Regions from separate parts of the Homo sapiens genome. Here region 2 is linked to region 1. Evidence: promoter capture Hi-C in human tissues and cell types (Jung and others, 2019). All regions are on one chromosome and are shown on one strand. The core of a region is centred on a gene start or on the middle of the fragment in contact, and the rest is flanking DNA. Distances in the headings are between cores, read along the strand shown. Region 1 holds the start of ADAMTS9 (ADAM metallopeptidase with thrombospondin type 1 motif 9). Region 2 overlaps ADAMTS9 (ADAM metallopeptidase with thrombospondin type 1 motif 9).

Region 1 (6,490 bases), core at 3,590-6,089:
AAATTAAAAACAAAAAACCTGGCTCTGAAAACTAGAACCAAATTAGCGGCAACAGTAAGCTCATTTAAGGTATATTTGTGAAGTGCCTACTATGTAACCATGGAGAAAATAGATTTGTCCTTTGCCCTTGTGTACCTTAAAGACTAACAAAGGACACCAAAACACAACAACACATGTGAACCAAACTAGGAAAGGGAAAATTCTGGACTCAGGGAGCATAAAGCACTCTGGCATGACTCAAAATACTCCTAGAGTTATCAGATTCCCCGCTAGTTAAAGATGCCATATATTTAACAATTGTCTACATCAAATGTGCACTTTTAGAGAATAATAAAATTGTATTTGCACACATTGTGTTGCTAATTTGGCTGCAGTTTGGAAGTAGTTTGGATCAAAGCTAGAAGCCTAGCACTTCTGAATTCCATTTGTAGTTATGATGTTGAACCCCAGGTGTGAAGCTCTCATTTCAAGGATAGTAGAGGGAGGAGAAAAAGGATTTGAAGCCCTAAGAATACAGTCAAAGGAAAGATTAGTGGGATGCATATGGAGTTTTAAAGCCTGAGCAATAATGTGAGTATGGTCTTCTAGAATGACAAGTCAACAAGGAGCTCCTGCTGAGTGAACAGGCTGAAGATCGGATCACCTTCGTAGAACTGCTATAAGCTGGTCATGAGCTATACAGAGCCACCTCCAAAGTGGAACTATGACTTTCAGAGTAGGGTCAAGAAAAGCTAGTTAGAACTTTAGATTTAGCATTAGAAGAAAAAATGATGTTCTCACAGATGGTATTCATCAGGCCAAATATAAATGCTGAATGATGAAGATCAATTAGGCGACAGTCTTTATGTTACTAGGCTGCTCTGATTAATGGAGATCACAAGCTTTGGAGGTAACTGGACCCCAGTGTAAATCCCAACTGCACATTCTGACTCCATAATGCCAGGCAAAGTCACTTTAATTTTGCTGGGTCTTATTTTCATTGTAAGTAAAATGAGGAGGGTAAAACCCAGATGGCAGGATAGCTATGAGGATTGAATAATTAGCACAAAGAACTCAATGAAGGGAATCTACTGTTATTATCAATAATGATACAAACTACTTTCTCTACAGTACCTGTTGCTTGAAGTCAGTAGTTAGAAGACTTTTAAAAAATACACTAAGGTCATTCACTCACAGGGCAAACAAAGACAACACAGTTTCTACCTGCTGCAGTCTGCAAATAGGAAACCGGATCAGAGAGGACATAGTACACATGGTCTGGTACATAGTAAGTACTCAAGAAAAGATTCTCATTATTATTATTCAGACAAAAGATTGGAACCCAAATTATTTAGTTAGCACAATTGTCCTTTTCATTTCTTGTCATGTAAAACACATCTCCCTAAGATTCTTTAGGCCCAAGGTCACAGAGCTCAGCCAGCACCAGGTCCCAGCTTGGTGATTCACTGACCAGAATGCAGTGCTACCAAGTACCAGGGGCTTATCTGTTCCCCAAATCACCTGACGCTGCTGACCACTCAGGAAACTATTCACTTGAATTCTGGCTCCTGGGCCCTCCCTACCATTTGGGTGTGGGTTTCCCCTTTCTGTGGAAATTGATGGCTTTGCTTCAAGTCTCCTTCCTGCTGTTTCCAGTGGCATTAGGCAAACAGAGTCATTTGTGATGTCATCACTGTCATTTCCATTGGCCGGATTATCTCTCCCTAGTGACTAATATCATTCATCACTCCTCTGGGATCTAATTTTCATGACGAATCAGCCAATGAATACTTCCACTTAACCTACAATACCATTCAATTCCAGTAAAGTCCCACGAAGAAAACGGGCTAAAAACTGTCCCTCCTTTAACTCCAGGTGACCTTGAAAAGGTTTGCTTCTTTCAGAGCAAATTTTTATGAGGGGCCAATTTATTTTATTTCATTTTATTATTTCTTTTCTCTTTTTTTGTAGAGACAAGGGGTTGCTATGTTGCCAAGGCTGGTCTTGAACCGCTGAACTGACCTCATGCAATCCTCCCACCTCAACCTTCCAAAGTGCTAGGATTACAGGTGTGAGCCACCATGCCTAGTCTTAATAAATACTTATTGACTACCTACTATGTGCCAGATCTCTTCTAACTGCTGAGGGAAAAGCTGTGAAATATCAATGAAATCGCTGACATGATTTTCATTAAATACTTTGCATGAGAAGAATAAGAGAGAGCTAAAGAAAAGTTATACATGCAATAAAAGCTTGAGGCAATTCTCTGAATGATTTTAGCCATTTTCCCACAAAGCAACCCTCCAAAAATCTAGCAGTGCTTCTGATTAATCAGTTATTCATGACATATGATAATAGTTATGAACTTGGATTGAACGACTGAAACGGAGTTTGAATCGTGTCTCTCACTTACTGGATTGAGGGGGGTCAAATTATTTCACTTATTCAGATCTCGGTATCCTTATTGGTAAAATGAGATTACTGACACTGACTTCCTGAAAGAGCTGTTTTGAGAATTAAATTAAATGCTATATGTTACCCCATGGTAAGTACTGAATAAGAGTACTTATTTAGACAAAGAGTAATTATTCAGACAAAAGATTTTTGCCTGACTTGCTTAGTTAGCTCAACTGTCTTTTTCATGTCTCACGATTTAAAAGACATTTTCCTAAGATTCTTTAAGACTTTTTTACAGATGTAAATGCAGAAGCCAGCTAATACACTGAAGAAAAGATGGGTAGACTCACTAAGGATGAGAAATTCATAAACCTAGGTTCTTGGTCACCTCAGGAGTTCACCAAGAGATATTTTGTATCTTTCTGGCCTATCAGCTCTTGTGGATCAATTTTTTAAAACTGTAGACAAAGTTCATTCTTCAAGCAAAGTCCTAGAAAGAAAGCAAAGGAGAGAGAGTACACAAAGGAGGCTTCTGTCCCTACATATCGTAATTTCTATACCATTAGTTAACTTCTCTTTGTCAGGAAGGATTTGAACTGAAAGAGAAAAAAAGATTTAATGGGAAATACTGGAAAGTGCTATATTTTTGAGTAATTTTACAATGGAAGTACTGGAATATTTTCCACAGGAATCAGCCAATAGATTGATTTCTTGATATTTTTCTGTTCCTTACTAAATTTTCAGCAACTCCCAGACACTGTGATTGTGGGGAATGTTGTTATAATAAAAAGAAAGATTGTGTATTAGAAGAAACGTATTTTAGTGAATTAATTTGGAGGTTCAAGGTTTAAATGCCATTCTCTAAAAATCTCTAATTGTGCACAATACAGATGTTATTTTTCCATCCTTACATTTTACATATCCATTATGAAATTCCAGTAATAAGACGATGGTAACATTATCAATTTGGGTTAACAATTATTTAGCAAATTCGTCTTGCCAAGTCATTTTTACCCTTCACCAGAAGAAATATATGTATTAGTATCTCAAGAATAGTTGACATTGCTAGCATATTGCGATTTGGTTCCTGGTGTTGGCAATCTTTGGTATTTCTAGTCCTGAGTGCTAACCTACCACGCAACAGAACCTCAACCCCCGTTCTAGGATACTTGGGCAAATATATATTTATTAGTCATATATTTATATATTTTTAACGATATTGTCATGTCTTTCCTCTTGAAATTATCTTGAAATTCTATCTTCCTGAGGGCTGGTTAAAGAAAAGGCGCCACTGAACCACCCAAGATTGAACAATTCACACACACACACACACACACACACACACACACACACACGAAGGTGTAGCTTGAAGCGCCTGCTTTCAGTCTTTCCCAGTCTTTCCAAGCATCTCTCAGGCTGAAAGCAAGCGGAAGTGATTGAGAAATCCCTCCAGGGACTGGTGCCTCCCACAGGGATCTACAACTTTACACTCCATCCCCCCTTCCCCTCCCATCTCTAAACCCCCTGGTAGTGAGGGGCGCCAGAGTCCCCGCCCCTTCTTGCTGCCAAAATTTGTTCTTAACCTTTTTTGGGGCAGGGGACCTACAGAATGCTATGGACCCTCCATGAATGGTGACAGAGGTTGGTGGAAAGCACAGCTTAAATATTTTGCGAAATTTTCAAGAGACCACGTATTAGAAACACACTCCGACCTGCAGGATTAAGAACCCCATTTCTAAAACTCTTGACTTGGGGTGATTAAATCGAGAGCGGAGCTCAGGTGCCAAATCTCTTCCCGAATGAAAAAGTGTAGGAAGGGAAGGCGCTCCGGCGCTGGGCCACTTTCACTTGTAAGAAACCAAAAGATGGGGACTGGTGGCAAGAGATGGGGACGGAAGAGAAAGGAAAGGAAAAGGAGAAATGTGAGAAACAGACAGGGACACGGTGGGGCGGGGAGAAGACAGACATCACAGGGGAAAATGGGGAGAAGGGACAGAGTCCGAGAGGCACAGCAGCAGAGAGACAAGGGGGAGGAGGAAAAAGAGACTCGGAAGGGAGGAGAGAGAGGAGAGGAGAGGAAAAAGACGAGAGGGGAAGTGGCTGCACGCGCGCCAGGAAAGGGAGAGAACTTTCCCTGCTTTCCCTCCCCGGGGCAGGGAATCTCAGAAAACCCCACTTCAGCGAGGTGGCGGGGACCAGGAACAGCTGCCCCGGCGCTGGTGACGCCTCTGGCCTCCGCCTCTTGCAGCCGGCAGGGCCTCCGGCTGCGAGTCCCGCACGGGCCGGCCGAGGAGGGGACATGGTCTGGAAGGAGGCGGTCCCCGTTCGTCTCGCTTTCTCCTCCCCTCTCCTCCTCTTAGAGGCGTGCACCGGGGGCATTTGAGAGGCTGTGGACCCGCGGCCCCCCCGCCTCCGCCCCCCCAGCCCCCCATTCAAGAAGCCGCTCAGCTATCCCGGCCAGCACAGGGCGCCCGGCGCGCCTCGGAGCGCAAGTTCCTCGCCTTCTCCTGCCCGCTCGCTGGGCATTATGCGGCCAAGCAGCCGAGCCCCAGTCCTCCTCCTCCTCCTGCTCCTCCGGCTCCTCCTGCGGCCCGAGCGGCTCAGCTCTCGGCAGGCGGCGGCGTTGCTCAGCCGAGCGCAGACGGGACCCTCGCAGCGAGACCTCAGCGACTCCTAAAGTCAAAAGTTGGCGGCGGGCGCCGGGCTCCGCGCGCTCTCCACGGCCGCTGCCTCGCGTCGCCGCCGCAGCCAAGGAGGGCAGGAGGGAGGGGGGTGGGGGCAGCGGAGGGAGGGGTGGGAAGCACCATGCAGTTTGTATCCTGGGCCACACTGCTAACGCTCCTGGTGCGGGACCTGGCCGAGATGGGGAGCCCAGACGCCGCGGCGGCCGTGCGCAAGGACAGGCTGCACCCGAGGCAAGGTAACCAGGCTCCGGCCCCCGGGACCCCGCCGGCCCCGACGCCGCCTCCCGGTCCTCGCTCCTGGGCAGGGGCACCCCGCAGCGGAGGCTTCTCTCCTTTTCCTAGAAAGAATTATCTCCCGCTTTGCAGCCTCTCCCTTCTTTGGGTCATCCCCAACCAATTGCTAGGGAGGGACACTATGGAAACGAATTTAGGCAACCCCCCCCTACCTTGCTGTTGCCAGATATATCCCCATCCCCACTCCCACGCCGCAAACTAAAGTAACTTAGTAATTGGGGGCACCAGATAGCGTCATGTTTTATTTTATTCAGGTTATTTATCAATATCTGAAATCATATATATTTTGACTTGTTAATTGTCTGGCTCGGAATAGTGTATCCTCAGCACCTAGCACAGGTCCTGTTACTGGCACATAGTAGGTGCTCAGCAAATATTTGTCCACTGATTAAGGGTGAAGGGATTGACTCGAATGGGCTGGAAAATAAGGTCAGAACAAAGTCCCCACCTTCGTTTTAAATTAAAGCTTAAGGAAAAATGAATTATTGGTTCATATACCTCTGCTTCTCTCCGCAGTGAAATTATTAGAGACCCTGAGCGAATACGAAATCGTGTCTCCCATCCGAGTGAACGCTCTCGGAGAACCCTTTCCCACGAACGTCCACTTCAAAAGAACGCGACGGAGCATTAACTCTGCCACTGACCCCTGGCCTGCCTTCGCCTCCTCCTCTTCCTCCTCTACCTCCTCCCAGGCGCATTACCGCCTCTCTGCCTTCGGCCAGCAGTTTCTATTTAATCTCACCGCCAATGCCGGATTTATCGCTCCACTGTTCACTGTCACCCTCCTCGGGACGCCCGGGGTGAATCAGACCAAGTTTTATTCCGAAGAGGAAGCGGAACTCAAGCACTGTTTCTACAAAGGCTATGTCAATACCAACTCCGAGCACACGGCCGTCATCAGCCTCTGCTCAGGAATGGTAAGTGGGCGCGCGCCACCTCCTCTCCCCTTCCGCCTCCTCGCCCGCTTCTAGAAGACTTAATTGTCCTCTAAGCCTAGAGACCCTCACTGTGGCGAGGCTCCGCTCCTCTCCGGCGTTAAATATCAGCTAGAAACTCGTATGGTTTGGGTAGCTAGCTCTGTGCGTGCGAGTACACTGGCGTGGAGCGCACACACCCGCCCCCAGGGGCTTCTGGAT
Region 2 (5,840 bases), core at 2,849-5,348, 130 kb after region 1:
TCAGTGGACTTCCTGTTCATTGTGAAGCCCATTGGTTGTTCAGGGGAAAGGGGCCTTCTTGATACCATGAGAGTAGAGCCCAGACTTTCAGATATAGGGTAGAATAATTGGACAAGAGAAAAGTGCTCTATCCACACATCCACATCTCATTTTGTTTACATCCTAGAAACAACATGTTGTAGGCAAAATTCTGTTCAGTGTGTGGCTCTGAAAAGTTGACTCTGAATTTCTAGACTTCACTTAGCTCATCTGCCAAATGGGAATTCTATGGCAGACTTTGCTCAAGGGTCACAGTGAGGATTTGGTGAGATGACATGATTCGACATGGTGACTAGCACATTTTAGGCCATCCCAAAGTAGACTTCTTTTTAGTACGGTGGCCTTCCGATGGAGGCTTCTGGTGATGACAGCAGTTTGACTCAGCCTGCACCTTATAATGTTGGGCTTCTAATATCACCCGCCAGCTTCAGGTGAGTAATTTGTCCTCGCAGTGGTCAGTTTTACCCACTTTAGAATTATAATGCTCATGAGGCTGTTTGGAAGAAAAAAGTTAAAAAAGACTTTTTAATTCTTTTGAGAATTATTATCACAAAGGATTTACTTGTTAATAGTATCACAATCTGACATATAAATTCACTTAGAGCAGCAGAGGTCCTTCTGGTCAAATTTGAATTGTGATCGTATGGGGCCATGCATCTGCAGCATTGAGGAATAGATCTCACAGGTCCTGCATGTGTTCTTTTCCCCCTTTACCTGGAATACACTCTTCTCTTGTAGTACCTCTTCATCATAAGACCACCTTCCTCTGACCTTCACCTCAGTCACCCTTTCTTATCCTTCAGGCCTCAACCTAGATGTCACTTCCTCTCAGAAGCCTTTGCCAATCACACCACCCCACTAAATCTGAGTCAGATGCTCCTCCACTCAGCTCTCACAACACACGCAGATTACTGTACTCTGGCAGTTAACACCTGGAATTCTCATTGCCTGTTTTTCTCATCTATGTTATCAGTTATTTAAGGTCAGGAAGCTTGTTCACCAGAATCTTCTCTATCATTTAACATGGTACCTACAACATCAAAGATACCTGTTAAATGAATGAATCTGTGAATGAATGAAGGAAACAAAATAATGGATGGGTGGAAGGAAAGAAGAAAGGAAAGGAGGGAGAAAGGAAGGAGGGAAAGATGGAAGCAAAAAAGGAAGGAAGGAGGAAGGAAGAAAGGGAGGGAGGAAGGAAGGAAGGAAGGAAGGAAGGAAGGAAGGAAGGAAAAAAACATAGAACAGTGCCTGCTAATTGATGGACTTTCATCTTTCACTCTATAGAATAAAGGCATTCTAAAATGACTTTTAGAACAGTCAAGCAGGCTGGACACAGTGGCTCACGCCTATAATCCCAGCACTTTGGGAGGCCAAGGAGGGAGGATCATTGAGCCCCAGAGTTTGAGACCAGCCTAGGCAACATAGTGAGACTCCATCTCTACAAAAGATAGAAAAAATTAGCCGAGTATGGTGGCATGGACCTGTAGTTCCAGCTACCTGGGAGGCTGAAGTGAGAGGATTGCTTAAGCTCAGGAGGTCAATGCTGCAGTGAGCTATCATCAGGCCACTGCACTACGGCCTGGGCAACAGAGCAAGACCCTGTCTCAAAAACATTAAAAATAAAAAAATAAAAGCACAGTCAAACTCTGTTTTTCCTGTAAGAACAGCTGTTTTATTTTCTTCTCACAATGCCATGGACAAGCTGTGCTCAGATATGTCTGACTGTTGCAGAACTGCTCACCTCGCTGCTGTTTGGTGCGGTATGGGGACTTGGGCCACTCTGATACATACTTGGAGTCTGAGGGCTTTTATTAAGATCAGCTGTAGAATGATTTCCAAGTGCATCTCCTTAACACAGAAAAGTTAGAAATGAGCAGCAGGTCCTTGGTCAGTTGATTTAAAAGATTTTCCTGAAGTTAACAGTAGGGAATGACCAGGTTTTGATGTGCGCACAGAGCCAGATACGAACTCTTTATTGCTCATTTTATTAATTTATTCAACCAGCGTTTATCAATCCCTTGTGAAGTTCCAGGCATTAGGCATTAGGGATGCTCTAAAAATCCCAAACCACAAATAATCTGCTCTGAAAACCCCAAAATGCTGTGGTCATTCTGCTCCCCCGCTTCTCCACCCATGCCATTTCTCACCTCCAGCCACCGTGCATGCTGAGCCCCTCCTAAGAATGTCCTCTTCCCCTCCTTGCCTGGTGAACTGATGTCCTCCATCATTCTCCTGCTCATCTGCTGCTACCTGGGCCCACCTTTGCAGCATCATGGGAATTGCCCCGTTGTGTTTCCTCTTCTCTCCCTGGTGGCTTCTTACTCAATTACATGCTCTGTTACAAACACAACTGCTTACACAACTGCACAGGTAGCCCTAGGTGTTAAACCCCAGGGGTCACCAGTCAGCCAGCTGAGCTAACACATGGGAACCCAAGTTGGGAATAGCTGCCACCCTGGGTGTCCTAACAGGGAGAGAGACAGGGTACGAAGCCATGGAGGCTGCCTCCCGGGGCCCCAGCATAGACCTTGGCTCATTGTAAAATACTGATTGATTGAATGAATGAATGACTTTAAAGTTACAAAGTGTCTCCATAGTATTATTTCTGCCTCCTTCTCCCCACCGCACCTCCTAACAAATATATACTATTTGGGAGCAAAAATGTCTAAATTCTGTATACCTGACTTTAAAATGAGCTTTAAAGTAAGGACTGCTTTTTTCGTTGTTGCCATTTAAAGCAACGCTAGATAAACTGATTTGTCATTGCTGCTTCTCATGACATAAAAACCCAGGAACCCTGTGGTTCTGTGAGTTGCCGTCCATACACTGTGCAACAATGGTAACCCAGCACTAGAGAAGACAAGGTCTTTCATCCATGGAGAAAATCAACAACCTTAAAAGGTAGAGCCTGTGACTCTCAAGCGGTTTTCTTCCCCCCATGGTTAGGGAATTGCACCAAAAGATATATTTGAAAGTGTAAAGCAACTTGATTATAATCTTTAAGCAAAGAAAATTTCTACCCATTGCATTAAATGATCCTTTTCAGACCATCACTCTGTGGCCAACCTACCTGGCTGAATAAAATACCACCTTCAGGGTTTACTTTAGGTCTTCCTCACCCTCAAATTCGGAGAAGTTCTTTTCCCCCTGTTAATTTCAGCATATTTAAAGGCACATGTAGCTTGCAGAACAATGGGCGAGCTGCCCGATTTAGTCCAGCACTGTGATTATTTTCTTTCTGAATTATAGTGTGTGATGAAATGCAAGGAGGCTGGTGGTGTTACTTGTGTTAGAGATTTTTCTAAAAGCCATACTGAAATTAGAGAAAACCTTTTGGAAATTAAAATGAGGCTAATTGAACTTTCCAACTGTTTTTCAGAACATTCTAGATCATATTCCAGGACAGGGGAAAGAGTCATAAATCGTAGAGGGTTGAGGGGGAAGCCATATTACAAAAAGCTGATGAAACCTGATAGCATGGACTCGATTTGTTTTCTGATTACCCAGCCCCCATACCCTAGTTAGGATTTAAGATTCCAGGAGAAAACCCTTGCCATGTGATTTTCAGAGCTGCTGTTGACTAATTTAGGAAACACTGGGCAAGTCACTTATTTACTTAGTTTAATTTTTAATTTTGTAAAAGTTATATTCAAGGTAAATTTTTCCAGCTCCCCTTTCCACCGCTGGCAAAATAGTCTTTACAGTAGTTAACCATTCTTTAAGACTGAGAGAGAAACGCTTAACAAGCATAAAGTATTTAGGATTCATTGTATTTCTGCTCTGAACTGTTACTTATTGATGCAGATTAAAGCCTTGTGGATTAGTGAAAACAAGAGAGGATACTGGAAGGTTTAGTCCAGGTTTAGCTGCGCAATAATTAGGATCTTCTCAGAGTCACCTAAGTCCTAATTTTCTAAGGAATTACTTTTTCTATGGGTGGTTAAGTATTTGCATATATCTACACATCACAGATTAAATTTTTCTTTTCTTTTCTTTTTTAACATTCGGTGGCCCTCTATCTCACCTTTTTAATGATGAAAAAAACACTTTTTTTCTAGGGGAATAGAGAACCCCAAAACCACTGAGCTAGGGATGAGCTAGGGAACTGGGCTCAGCCGGCCTCCTGCACTAATTTGAAATGATTCTGCTCCTCCATGCTCACCTCACAGTGGTTTCAAGTTATGTTTATGCTCCAGAAAAATGAGGACTGACTCCATATTCTAGATATTGAGGTTTACTCCCAAGCAGCAGAAATTTTAAGTTTAGTTTGCAAGTGACAAGGGGCTACCAGGAAATGCCAGCATATCCCTTCTCCTTCCTAAAGGAACAGGGTAGCTCACGAAAGGCACGGGGCATACTATATGACCCAGCAATTCCACTCCCAGGTATATATACCCAAAAGAATGGAAAATAGGTGTTTAAATTTGTACATGAATGTTCATAGCAGCACTATTTACAATAGCCAAATGAGAAACAACCCATATGTCCATCAACTGAGGAATGGATAAACAAAATGTGGTATATCCGTACAACAGAATCTTATTCAGCCTTAAAAAGGAGTGAAATATTGATACATGCTGCAATATGGAAGAACCTCGAAAACATTAAGGGAGAGAAGTCAGGTAATAAAGGCCACATATTGGATGATTCCATATATGTGAAATACCCAGAATAGGCAAATCTGCAGAGACAGAAAGCAGACTGGTGTTTGCTAGGGGCTACAGGAAGGAAGGAATGGGGAGGGACTGGTGAACGGGTACAAGGCTTCCTTTTGCAGTGATGAAATATTCTGGAACTAGATGGGGTGATGGTTGCATAATATTGCAAATGTCCTAAAGGCCACTGAATTCTATACTTGTGATAGTTAAAATGGTGAATTTTATATTTTGTGTATTTTATCACCAAAAAAAAAAAGACATAGGGCATATCATAGAAGACATTTCTGAGTGAAGCTGAGTTCCAAACATAAATGCCTTTGAGGCAAGGCAGGGATAAAAGGAAAGGCTGCCCATTAGATGAAAAAGAGAGGTGGGGTCTGTAGTTCTCCGTAAAGAGACTAAAATTAGACATTTTAAAAGACAGTGTGCTAGCTGGGCATGATGGCTGACGCCTGTAATCCCAGAACTTTGGGAGGCCAAGGCAGGAGGATCCCTTAAACCCAGGAGTTCAAGACCAAACTGGGCAACGTAGTGAGACTCATCTCTACAAAAAATTTAAAAATAAGCTGAGCGTGGTGGCTCATGCCTGTAGTCCCAGCTACTTGGGACTAAAATGTAGGAGGGAAGTCGAGGCTATAGCAAACTGTGATCACATCACTGCACTCCAACATGAGCAACAGAGGGAGACTTTGTCTCAAAAAAAAAAAAAAAGGAAAGAAAAGAAAAGACAACATTCTGACCACACAACAAAAATCACAGTTGTTAGATAAGCCCGTTGCCAACAGGGTATTCAATCCCTGGCCTAAATTAAGAAACTGCAGCAGTCCTTGGTACAGGTTTCACTTAGCTCACTGGGGCTTCCCAATGAGTCTTGAAATGTTGGGTGACACAGAGGCTTTAGATACAATAGGCTTTCAGTGACCTTTAGCAACACAGGGCACTAAGGATAAACTTCAGGGGTGGGGTTTGGTGTTGGCTAAAGCAAAACAAATAAGAATCTGTGGACATAGAGATTATCCTAGAATGAAACATACCACTTGCTCTGTAATCATCCCTTGGCTTATGGGAATAAACATAGCTGTCCCGTCTACCTCACAAAGAGATGTGTGACCTGGGGCAAGTAACTTAGGCTCTCAAAGT

Evidence for each region. The method cuts DNA at HindIII sites, captures the fragments that hold promoters and counts their contacts. A contact is called where the count stands out against the background at its distance.
Region 2: a fragment that was not itself captured here is called in contact with the fragment with the promoter of ADAMTS9 in region 1 in 1 of the 25 tissues and cell types used here (aorta).

The regions. Positions count from the first base shown.
Region 1 is chr3:64,686,349-64,692,838 of GRCh38, reverse strand. ADAMTS9 (ADAM metallopeptidase with thrombospondin type 1 motif 9) reads left to right here and starts at 4,839. Exons shown (of 40, transcript NM_182920.2): 1 at 4,839-5,296; 2 at 5,871-6,271. The coding sequence starts at 5,182. All of the region lies in intron 1 of ADAMTS9-AS2 (ADAMTS9 antisense RNA 2), which reads right to left. The HindIII fragment of the contact is 6,670 bases long and covers 1,557-6,490 here.
Region 2 is chr3:64,552,147-64,557,986 of GRCh38, reverse strand. All of the region lies in intron 30 of ADAMTS9 (ADAM metallopeptidase with thrombospondin type 1 motif 9), which reads left to right. Among named protein-coding and RNA genes, the nearest start is that of ADAMTS9-AS1, 6.3 kb to the left of the region's middle. The HindIII fragment of the contact is 7,412 bases long and covers 393-5,840 here.